Linked DNA regions of Homo sapiens: region 2 is linked to region 1. Evidence: promoter capture Hi-C in human tissues and cell types (Jung and others, 2019). All regions are on one chromosome and are shown on one strand. The core of a region is centred on a gene start or on the middle of the fragment in contact, and the rest is flanking DNA. Distances in the headings are between cores, read along the strand shown. Region 1 holds the start of C18orf32 (chromosome 18 open reading frame 32). Region 2 overlaps LOC105372112 (a long non-coding RNA gene).

What was found. Contacts are between HindIII fragments. The study calls those that stand out against the background at their distance.
Region 2: a contact is called between a fragment that was not itself captured here and the fragment with the promoter of C18orf32 in region 1, in 1 of the 25 tissues and cell types used here (H1 embryonic stem cells).

Annotation. Positions count from the first base shown.
Region 1 is chr18:49,484,102-49,488,914 of GRCh38, reverse strand. C18orf32 (chromosome 18 open reading frame 32) reads left to right here and starts at 1,681. Exons shown (of 3, transcript NM_001035005.4): 1 at 1,681-1,872. The region is part of intron 5 of RPL17-C18orf32 (RPL17-C18orf32 readthrough); the gene reads left to right. RPL17 (ribosomal protein L17) reads left to right here. Exons shown (of 7, transcript NM_001035006.5): 7 at 349-434. The coding sequence ends at 396. It overlaps MIR1539 (microRNA 1539), which reads right to left and starts at 1,542; the gene lies at 1,493-1,542. RefSeq lists an enhancer at 1,623-1,782 and a silencer at 1,823-1,952. The HindIII fragment of the contact is 6,566 bases long and covers 1,211-4,813 here.
Region 2 is chr18:49,731,752-49,736,745 of GRCh38, reverse strand. It overlaps LOC105372112 (a long non-coding RNA gene), which reads right to left. Exons shown (of 5, transcript XR_007066363.1): 4 at 1-42. Among named protein-coding and RNA genes, the nearest start is that of ACAA2, 79 kb to the left of the region's middle. The HindIII fragment of the contact is 5,699 bases long and covers 1-4,736 here.

The DNA of each region.
Region 1 (4,813 bases), core at 432-2,931:
AAAAAAAAAAACTGGTAGTTTTATATTCAGTACCTCAGGCCCGTATGATTATCTGCTGATGGCCCCACTTAGATGTACATAGCCACTTCAAAATGGGCCCTCTCCCCAAATCTAAGAAGCTTGTTTTCAGTAATTGATCACATTTAGTTCTTTTAAGTCAAGAACCTGAGTGATTCTGTACACTTCTTTTTACATCTAATGAACTTAAGTTCTGTTGATTTCTACCATTTAAGTATTTTTCCCCCTTAGTCCTTAACGACTAGGTTTCCTGCCTCCAGAATAAGCTGAAGTCCTCCAAGATGTACTGTGGTTTTCTCTAAGAAACTTAACACATTTTTCTTTCCCCAGATATCCCAGAAGAAACTGAAGAAACAAAAACTTATGGCACGGGAGTAAATTCAGCATTAAAATAAATGTAATTAAAAGGAAAAGAATGTTGGTTGTCTTTATTAGTGAACATATTTCAAGTGTCCTTACAAGATGGATCAAATGAGGATTTTTTAGGATTAGAACTAGAAACACAAGATTGTTTACCCTGCACCATTAAAAACCATTTTCATGGCTGGGCACAGTGGCTCATTTCTGTAGTCCCAGCACTTTGGGAGGTGGAGGCTGACTGCTTAAGCCCAGCCAGGGCAACATGTCAGAACCCTGTCTGTTAAAAAAAAGTAAGTGTGGTGTCACTTGCATGTAGTCCCAGCTAATTGGGGGGCTGAGGTGGGAGGCTGCAGTGAGCACTACTGCACCCCAGCGTGGGCAAGACAGAACAAGACCCTGTCTCAAAAAAAGTTTCATTATCCCAAAAGGAATTTGCAGTGGTTTTCTTTGCAGAACAATCCAGTATGTGAATATACCAGTTGATCATCCCCAGTTGGAAATGGCTCCATTGAGCATTGCCTTTGAGTATGATAACAGCACTCAGGCTCAGGTTTTGAAGCTTTTTAGGTTGATGCTCAACCTGTATCATTTCGTCAATTGATAAAGGGGTTTTGTTTTTGCTATTAGGAACGATGGTACTGTGAACGTTTGTGTGCAGATTTTTGTGTTTTCATTTATTGAGTATATACTAGAGTGGAATTGCTAGATCATAAGGTTACCTGAGTAAACATCTGAGGAACTTCCAAATATTTCCAAAAAGGCTGCACGCTACATTTCCACCAACGGTTTATGAGGGTCCCAGTTTTCACACAACTTCGCCAACACGTACTGACATCCTAGCGAGCGTCAGTACTTTTCGTTTATAAAGTGATGTAACTGCTTCTTTTAAGCAACTGACGTTTGTAAAGTTGGCCTTAATGTTAGTTTGCTCTGCCCTTGAATTTAAGAAACCAGCAAAACTAATAGCTTATCCACAGTTGCCTCAACGGCCTAGCTGCCACCTTCCGTGTGGGTGCCGCGCCGTTTGCACAGGCATCATCCTTTACCGAGATCCTGCGTTCTGGGTCTGGGTGTAGTCAGGTCAGGCTTTCTTCCCGCAGCGAAGCTTTTAGTTGGGCATCTGGGACGCGCAGGACTTTCGCGCTACCTGCAGGCCGCAGAGCCGGAAGCCTCGCCGCGCCCCTTGGGCAACACTGCTGCGTGCTGTGCGACCCCGGGTTGACGCAAGCGCGCCTTTGTCGTCCCCGTTGAAGGCGCCCATTGGCTCGGCTGCGGATCGTCCCTCCCTCCGGAAGTGCGGACATTGTCAGCTGCGTTTCCGCGGTCGCGGGTGAGTGTGCCCGGGCTAGCGGCCTGGGTTGGGCTTTGTAGCTGCTCCGCAGGCCCAGCCCGGGCCGCGCTCGCAGAGTCCTAGGCGGTGCGCGGCCTCCTGCCTCCTCCCTCCTCGGCGGTCGCGGCCCGCCGGCCTCCGCGGTGCCTGCCTTCGCTCTCAGGGTACCTTCCTTCCGCGAGCGCGCTCCTCCGCCCTCCGCCCCGCCCTCCCCTCCCCTCTGTCTGTATTCTTTGTCCACCACCGGCGCCCTCGGAGCTTGCATTTGCCTCTCCGATACTTTATATTGATTTTGTTCTTTTCCGTGGCCAAGTATCGGTTTCACATCCTTTCTATGACCTTCACCGTTAGGCCTCTGTTCTCGTCTCTTTTCAATCATTGTCATTGACTCAACCTGTCCCCGCTCCCTCTGTCTCCACTAAGATGACATGCTCAACTGGATGACTTGGAGGAAGGTGACTTTCCCTGTTATGCCTTCCCTATTTCGGATGGAGCCTCAGACTTTAACTGTCTACTCTGTTGTCTGGACTTAAGTTGAGTGAAAGAAGATTCCTCTGCAACAGCTTTAATCCGTTTTGCTCGCTTTGTTGGCTTGGAGCGAATAATTAAAATAATAATATCTCGTAGCCACCTTCTAGACTTTTCTGACCCAGTTTCCATATGTGTGAAGTAAAATATCTTACCGAAGTATTATTATGAAGATTAAAAGATAAGATACAAATAGGCTTCATTCCGAAGAGAGCTAAAAAGTCTCTTAAAAGCCGTAATTGTGGCGTAAGTGATTAGTAGTATTTGTCCTCGAGAGTTTATGTACATCGTACTGTGTGCGAACTTACTTAAAACACAATTGCAGAAGTAAAAATGAATCTTTATGATGGAGGGCCTGTCAGTCACTAAACTAGTACTGGTAGCATTGTCAGTTGTTTTGAAGGGGTTTCGTTGGTTTGGAAAGTTTGGTAAAAGTTTGGTAAAAACATGACCATTGTGTTTTTGGAAGAGGAAAAGGCAAGAGCATTGAGGAAAACCAGAACTGGAAATAATGGTCTTAGAAGCTCTAGTTACCAGTTACCTCTGTGAGAACTTTGGACAGGTTACAACTTTTGGATTTTTTTTTTTTTTTAATCTTGAGACAGGGTCTGCCTCTGTGGCCCAGGCTGGAGTCCAGTGGGCCATCATAGCTCACGGCAGTTTCGGCTTTCCTGGGCGCAAGCGGTTCTCTCCTTCCTCAGCTCCCCAAATACCTGGGACTACAGGCGCGTGCCATCACACCTTGCTAATTATTTAAAAAAAAAAATTAGGCCAGGTTCCAGTAATCCCAGCACTTTGGGAGGCCTAGGCGGGAGGATCATTTGAGCTTAGGACTTTAAGATCAGCATGGGCAACACAGTGAGACCTCATCTCTACTAAGAATTAAAAAATCTGTCGGGCATCGTGGCGCAGGGCTGTGGTCCTACCTACTCAGGAGGCTGAGGAAGGGGGATAGCTTGATTCTGGGAAGTCAAGGCTGCAGTGAACTCTGAACACAGGTGGTATGTTTGAGCCACTGCACTTTAGCCTGAGCAACAGAGCAAGACCCTGTCTCAAAAAAAAAAAAATCACTATTGCCCCAGCAATTGATTTTATTTTATTTTATTTTTATTTTTTTTTTTTCTGACACGGAGTTTTGCTCTTGTCACGCAGGCTGGAGTGCAATGGCGCAATCTCAGCTCACTGCGACTTCCGCCTCCCAGGTTCAAGCAATTCTCCTGCCTCAGCCTCCCCAGTAGCTGGGATTACAGGTGCCCACCACCACGCCCAGCTAATTTTTGTATTTTTAGTAGAGACAGGGTTTTGCCATGTTGGCCAGGCTGGTTTCGAACTCCTTACCTAAGATGATCCACCCCCTCGGCCTCCCAAGGTGCTTGGATTACAGGCGTGAGCCACCGCGCCCAGCCTCAATTTACATTTTTGTTTATAGCTCTTGCTTGTAATTCATTTCAAAGACATTCAGATTTGATTCTCTATGCCACCGTTTACCTGTATTGTGAATAATTTTTAAATGTCTAAGCATAGTGATGGTGCTGACTCAGTTGCCAGCAGATGCTACTTAATTTGCAGTATTTTGAAAATAAGAAATCTTTTTTTTGAGACGGAGTTTTGCTCTGTCACCCAGGCTGGAATGCAGTGGCATGATCTTGGCTCACCGCAACCTCTACCTCCCGGGTTCAAGCAATTCTTCCCCCTCAGCCTCCCGAGTAGCTGGGATTACAGGCCTGCTCCACCATGGCTGGCTAATTTTGTGTTTTTAGTAGAGACGGGGTTTCACCATGTTGGTTAGGCTGGTCTCGAACTCCTGACCTCAGGTGATCTGCCCGCCTTGGCCTCCCAAAGTGCTGGGATTACAGGTGTGAGCCACCACACCCGGCTCATTTTTTAAACTCTAAATAGACATAGTAGCAAGGGTACCCAACCTCACTGATTGAGGATTAAATGAGTTGTTATATGTAAACTGTCTAGCACCTACCAAATGTTGTTGTTTTTCCTTTATAATCAAATTCATGATTAAGGAGCAGTGACTGGAAGTTTGGAAGCAGGCACCTCATTATTATTCATGCCTACCACCTATTATTTCTTTATTTTGAGATGGAGTCTTGCTCTGTCACCTAGGCTGGAGTGCAGTGGTGGGATCTCGGCTCACTGCAGCCTCTGCCTCCTGGGTTCAAGCAATTCTGCCTCAGCCTTCCGAGTAGCTGGGATTACAGGCGCATGCCACAACACCCCGCTGATTTTTGTATTTTTAGTAGAGACAGGGTTTCACCATGTTGGCCAGGCTGGTCTCGAACTCCTCACCTCATGATCCACCCGCCTTGGCCTCCCAAAGTGCTGGGATTACAGCCATGAGCCACTGCACCTGGCCTATTTCTTTACCTTGTAGATAGCAGCTTTTTATTTAATAAAGTCTTTTTTTTTTAGCAAATATAATAGTATGTTTTAAGTTTTTCCTACACTGTAGAAATAGTCCTTTCGTGTGTGTGTGTGTGTGTGTGTGTGTGTGTGTGTATATATATATATATATATATTTTTTTTTTTTCTTTTTTTGAGACAAAGTGTCTCTGTGTCATCCAG
Region 2 (4,994 bases), core at 638-3,137, 250 kb before region 1:
GTGAACAAAGGAAAGCTTCTGTGCCTCAGGTGAAACGGGAGTCTAGAAAAAGTTAATGAAAGGAATAACCGAGTAAGTAGCAAACACGCATCTGCTAAATAGATGTCTGAAGCCACAGACTTTAATATTTGGAGCAAAAGACAAAATATTAAAAACTCAGGTAAATGGACTCTTTTTATTTTTTTACTAGAAAAAGTTTGGAAATACCCCTGTGAAAAGGACCCCACAAAGCCTCTTTGCTACTCTCACCCATCAATTCCTCTTCTGGAAGTTTCGCAGGAAGGCATATATTTTGAATCTCAAATGAGAACAGGAAAGAATGATAAATAACCAAAATACCAGGAAACCAGCTTCTCTAATCTGAGGGGCAAAATAGTCTCCAAGAATAATGTCCAAGCCCCCCAGGGAAGACAATTTCTCTCCAAGTAGCTGGAACATGGAATGAACCCTCTGTACAAGGCAACTTCGTATTTCTAAAGACTCAAAGACCAACAGGAGGTGACAAAACTCATGGCAGAATGGCCTGTATTTGGAGCTGTTTCATTTATTGAGGGTTTTCGATGTGAAAGAGTTTGCTAGGTTAGGGCAGCTGTGTTTGAGGACAATGTGCTAGAAGGAAAGCAGATGAACTATAGGAGAAAGGCTGAACTTCATCAGTCCCAAACCCCGTATAACAGCTGACCTACAAGCCACAGCATTGCATTGAGAGCCGGCCCTTTCCTGGGTATACTAGTTTTCTATTGCTGTGTAACAATGACCACAAACTTAGTGTTTAAAACAACACACACATTGATTATCTCCTAGCTTCCATGGATCAGAACTCTGAGTACAGCTTAATTCTGCTCAGGATCTCATGGGGCTGCAATTCAATTGCCCTGTTGGTCGGTGCTGTGGTGGTTTCACCTGAAGTTGTGGTCCCTTCGAAGCTCCTGTGGTTGTTGGTAGAATTCAGTTCTTGCAGCTGTATGACTGAAGCCCTCAGCTCCTAAAGGGCACACAGTTTCTGGCTGTGTGGCCCTCTCCATAGGCAGTTTACAGCGGTGCAATTTACTGCTTCAAGACCAGTAGGAGATTCTGTCTAGCACATGCTAGCAAGATGGAACTACCTATATGTATTACGTATGTATATCTTGTTCTCTTTCCCTCTCTGTATCTTGTGACATAATCGTGGGGGTGGCATCCCATCTACTTTGCCATATTCTAATGGTTAGAAGCAAGTGACAGGTCTTACACTCCAAAGGAAGGGATTATCCAGGGCATGAACATGGGCGCCCCCCAATAGTGTCCATCCATCACACCAGGCTTGTGATCCCCTAACGCAGAGTTTCCCAAGGGGTGTACCTGAAACACTAATCCCATAACAATTATTTTTTTTAAAATGGTATCTGAGTCATACAAGTTTGGAATTGGTGCATGTTCTCTTCACCTCTTGGAGATTCAAAATACACATTAGCATATTAAAGGTACTGAGACTTTCTGGGTATCAATTATGATTGCGCTCAGCAGCAAAAAAAAAAAAAAAAAGCCAGAAAACTTAATGATAATACCTTCAAATGTTGAGTTTTTTAAAAAAGACAAGAAGCTCTGAGAGAGAAAGTTGCTGGCCTGGATTCAATGGGTCAGTCATGTTCGGACAGATGTCACTGTGATTTTCTTGGCTTTCCCTCATAGTTACCACGAGGGCTGCCTCTGTTCTGGCCATCATGTTTGTATTTATAGCACACGGGAGGAGGAAGGAAAAATCCCAAGTTGGTCCTCTCAGTTTCATTCATCATGAAAGCATAAGGTTTCTAAAAACTTTCAACTTCTGCTTCTATCTCATGGTTAGAACAGGATCATGTGGCTATCTGCATGGAAGACTCATGTTCCTATCTGCGAGGAAGACTATGGGAGTAAATATTTAACAATTCTTGCATTGATGGTGAGAAATGGCAAGGGAGATTGGGGTTGAGAGAGCCTTTAGGGGTAGCCAATTATCAGTGTCTGCTTCATGAAATCTTAAAGAAATATGTTTAAATTTTCCACATGATGCTCTAATATGTAACCTCAGAGACACACCTTCAACAATGTTGCTGTAGCCAGAATGTCTTGGAGTGACAGAACCAAGAAAACTAAACTCCTAACTCTTTGGCCTGGACAGCTGACACTGAAGTCTTCTCTGGTTCCTCTCATTCTTGAGAATAGCTCTGGGCTCAACCATGGGGTGAAGGGTAAGCCTCTTGGATGCTTCAATTCATCAGATGTCAGCTGTGCACGACCACAAGCTCAAAAGGATAACCTTCTGCCCTCTCGACTTTGAAACCCCAAGACCCAGAAAACTGCTAGCCCAGCATCCCTTCTTTTCGTGCCACAGCCAAGAAAGCCTCCTCGCCAAAAACCACACCTTGTCACTGGGAAGGGCTCAAGAAAAGCTACTGGGAAGGAAACTGACCCCAGAGTTCACCCGTCTGGTTTCTAATAATAAGCTCTTTCAAACTCTCCCTTTCCTTTATTTCCATTTCCCAGTTTCTCTCTCACTTCTTCTTCTGACCCAAAATGGGTGTCATGAAGTGCCTCCAGTCCCTTTCCTGGTTTTACATCTTCAACAAGATTGATTGACATCCCTTTATCTCCTCTAGCTATGCTTGGCATTTTGGCTGGTGACTGCAAAGTGGAGTCTGTGGAGTACTCTTGGCATATTTCAAATGGTTGCAGATTTTCAGGTATTGTGATGGGGCAACATGGTCTTGTAGAAAGAGAACTTGTTGGGATGTTCAACTCCATCTTAACCAGTGGTGAGACTGTGGGCAAGTCGACAAGAAAAACCTTTGCGTTACAAAGGGGATGCGGGGAGGGGAACCTGGTTCTCCACCCCATGCAGGGTTCCAACAGGAAGTTACCAGTCTAAGAGAGCATTTCTGGAGGCAGCAGATTGCACTTGGAAAAACCTGCCATTGTAAGAAAGGTCGGTGCTCTTAGGGTCAACATTTTGCAGCCTGAGCTCAAGGGCCCACCATCCTCATCCTCAGAAAGAAAAGGCTTCCAAAGGTCAGAGCACCTGCCCATAGTTACATTGATAAGAGCCCAGGTTTTTGGTTATTATTAATTTCTTCTTTGATCACCATTCTCCATCCATGGGAAGGGTTAATGTATTCCTTCTCCACACTAACTCACTGACTCATTCAACATCTATTTATTGAATGCCTGCTGAATAACTCTATAAGCTATAAGTTAGCCCCAAGGAACTTACAATTCAGAGAGGAGACATCTGTGCCGCCAATAACAACACAATCAAATAATGACTGTGATGTTGGGGTAGCAGGTAGCTTATGAGTGGTTTGGGTGGTTGAGCAGGGGTTGTCCACTTGGGCTAGGCCCTTCCAGAAGGGCCTTGATAGCATCTCTAGGGACAAATGATGTCATTCTAAACAGAACCCTCAATGGGCAAAGTGCTGAGCACTGTTGACTGATGGGAGGGGAATGGACTATTCGGTCTGACAGAGTGTCCCTGGGCTTGGCCCTGCAGAGCCTCCTATTTTCTCAATTTTACACTTTCTTGTCATTAGGTCCCCTCTTCCCCCTTTCCTCCACAGACTGTATGAAGGATTGTGAGAACATAAGAGGAGGAATACATAGGTCTCCCAGGAAGGAGCAAAAGGTTCCAGAAGAAGTAGCCCTCTATGTGAAGTGTGAGAACAAGAAGTCACGGTGACGGTGACAAGGAGGAGGCCTGGCAGGGTGTGGTGGCTCATGCCTGTGATGCCAGCACTTTGGGAGGCTGAGGTGGGTGGATCGCTTGAGCTCAGGTGTTTGAGACCAGCCTGAGCAACATGGTGAAACCCCATCTCTACAAAAACATACAAAAAATTAGCTGGGCATGGTGGTGTGCACCTGTAGTCCCAGATACTTGGGAGGCTGAGGTGGGAGGAGGATCACCTGAGCCTGGGAGGTCGAGGCTGTGGTGAGCCATCATAACACTACTGCACTCCAACCTAGGCAACAGAGCAAGATCCTGTTTAAAAAAAAAAAAGGAAAAAGAAAAAATGGAGGCCTTCCTGGGAGAGAGAGCAGCATTGCAGAGACATGGAGGAGGAGAGGGTTAATGTGTTCCAAGAATAGCAAACAGTTTAGTAATGCCCAGGCATCAGGGGCTGCAGGGCTGGGTGGGCAGGAATGCAGGAGGGAGGCTGAGCAGCTCAGCCAGGGTCATATCAAGGGTCTAATGAAGTCTCCCCATATCTGGTCCTATCTCAGTTTTCTGAGCCCGACAAAGTAGACGTAATACTTTCTTATTCTCCATATAGAAATCCTTAGGTATATAAACACAAATGCCAAAGCCCAAAAATATGCATTTTAGAATACTCAGCTCTTCTCCAAGTTAAAAAACCCAGGGTGGCCTATATGGCCAAATGGCCCTGAGCTCATCCCCTGAGGAACTGATTCAAGCTTCTCTACAGGAGCCACTGTGCACAGGCAAGAACTAGCCTGTGGCGAAGGAAGCCAAACAGCCAGTCACCTAAGCAAGGTCAACAAAGGCTGGGGGAAAGCAGTCATTGCTCAGTAGTGTCTTGCCTCCAGCCTCACTCTCATCATTCAGAAGCCTGCTCCAGTGTCCCCTCCCCTTCATAGCTCCCTCACCTCCCCAGACTGAATTCCTTCTTCCTAGGTATGTTTCTGGGCCTTGCATGGACTTGCATAAGTACACATATCACTGTGTCTTATGGTTCACTTAATAACATGTTCTGAGTCTGTAAATTCCTTGAAAGCAGGAACTATGTCCTAATAATCTTTCTCTCGCACAACATAACACAGGGCTTGGTATACAGTAGAAATTCAATAAATATTTATTCAACTAGGCTGAACTTTGGGATCTGGCAAGAGATGCATTAGATGACCATGACGATCAAAAGAACCATGGCTGAAGAATAGGAGTGGAAAATAACTACCGGGGGATGGCCGATTTGGCACCCCAGTGCCAAAGCTACAAAGAGAGAAAATCTGACTCAAATTCGTTA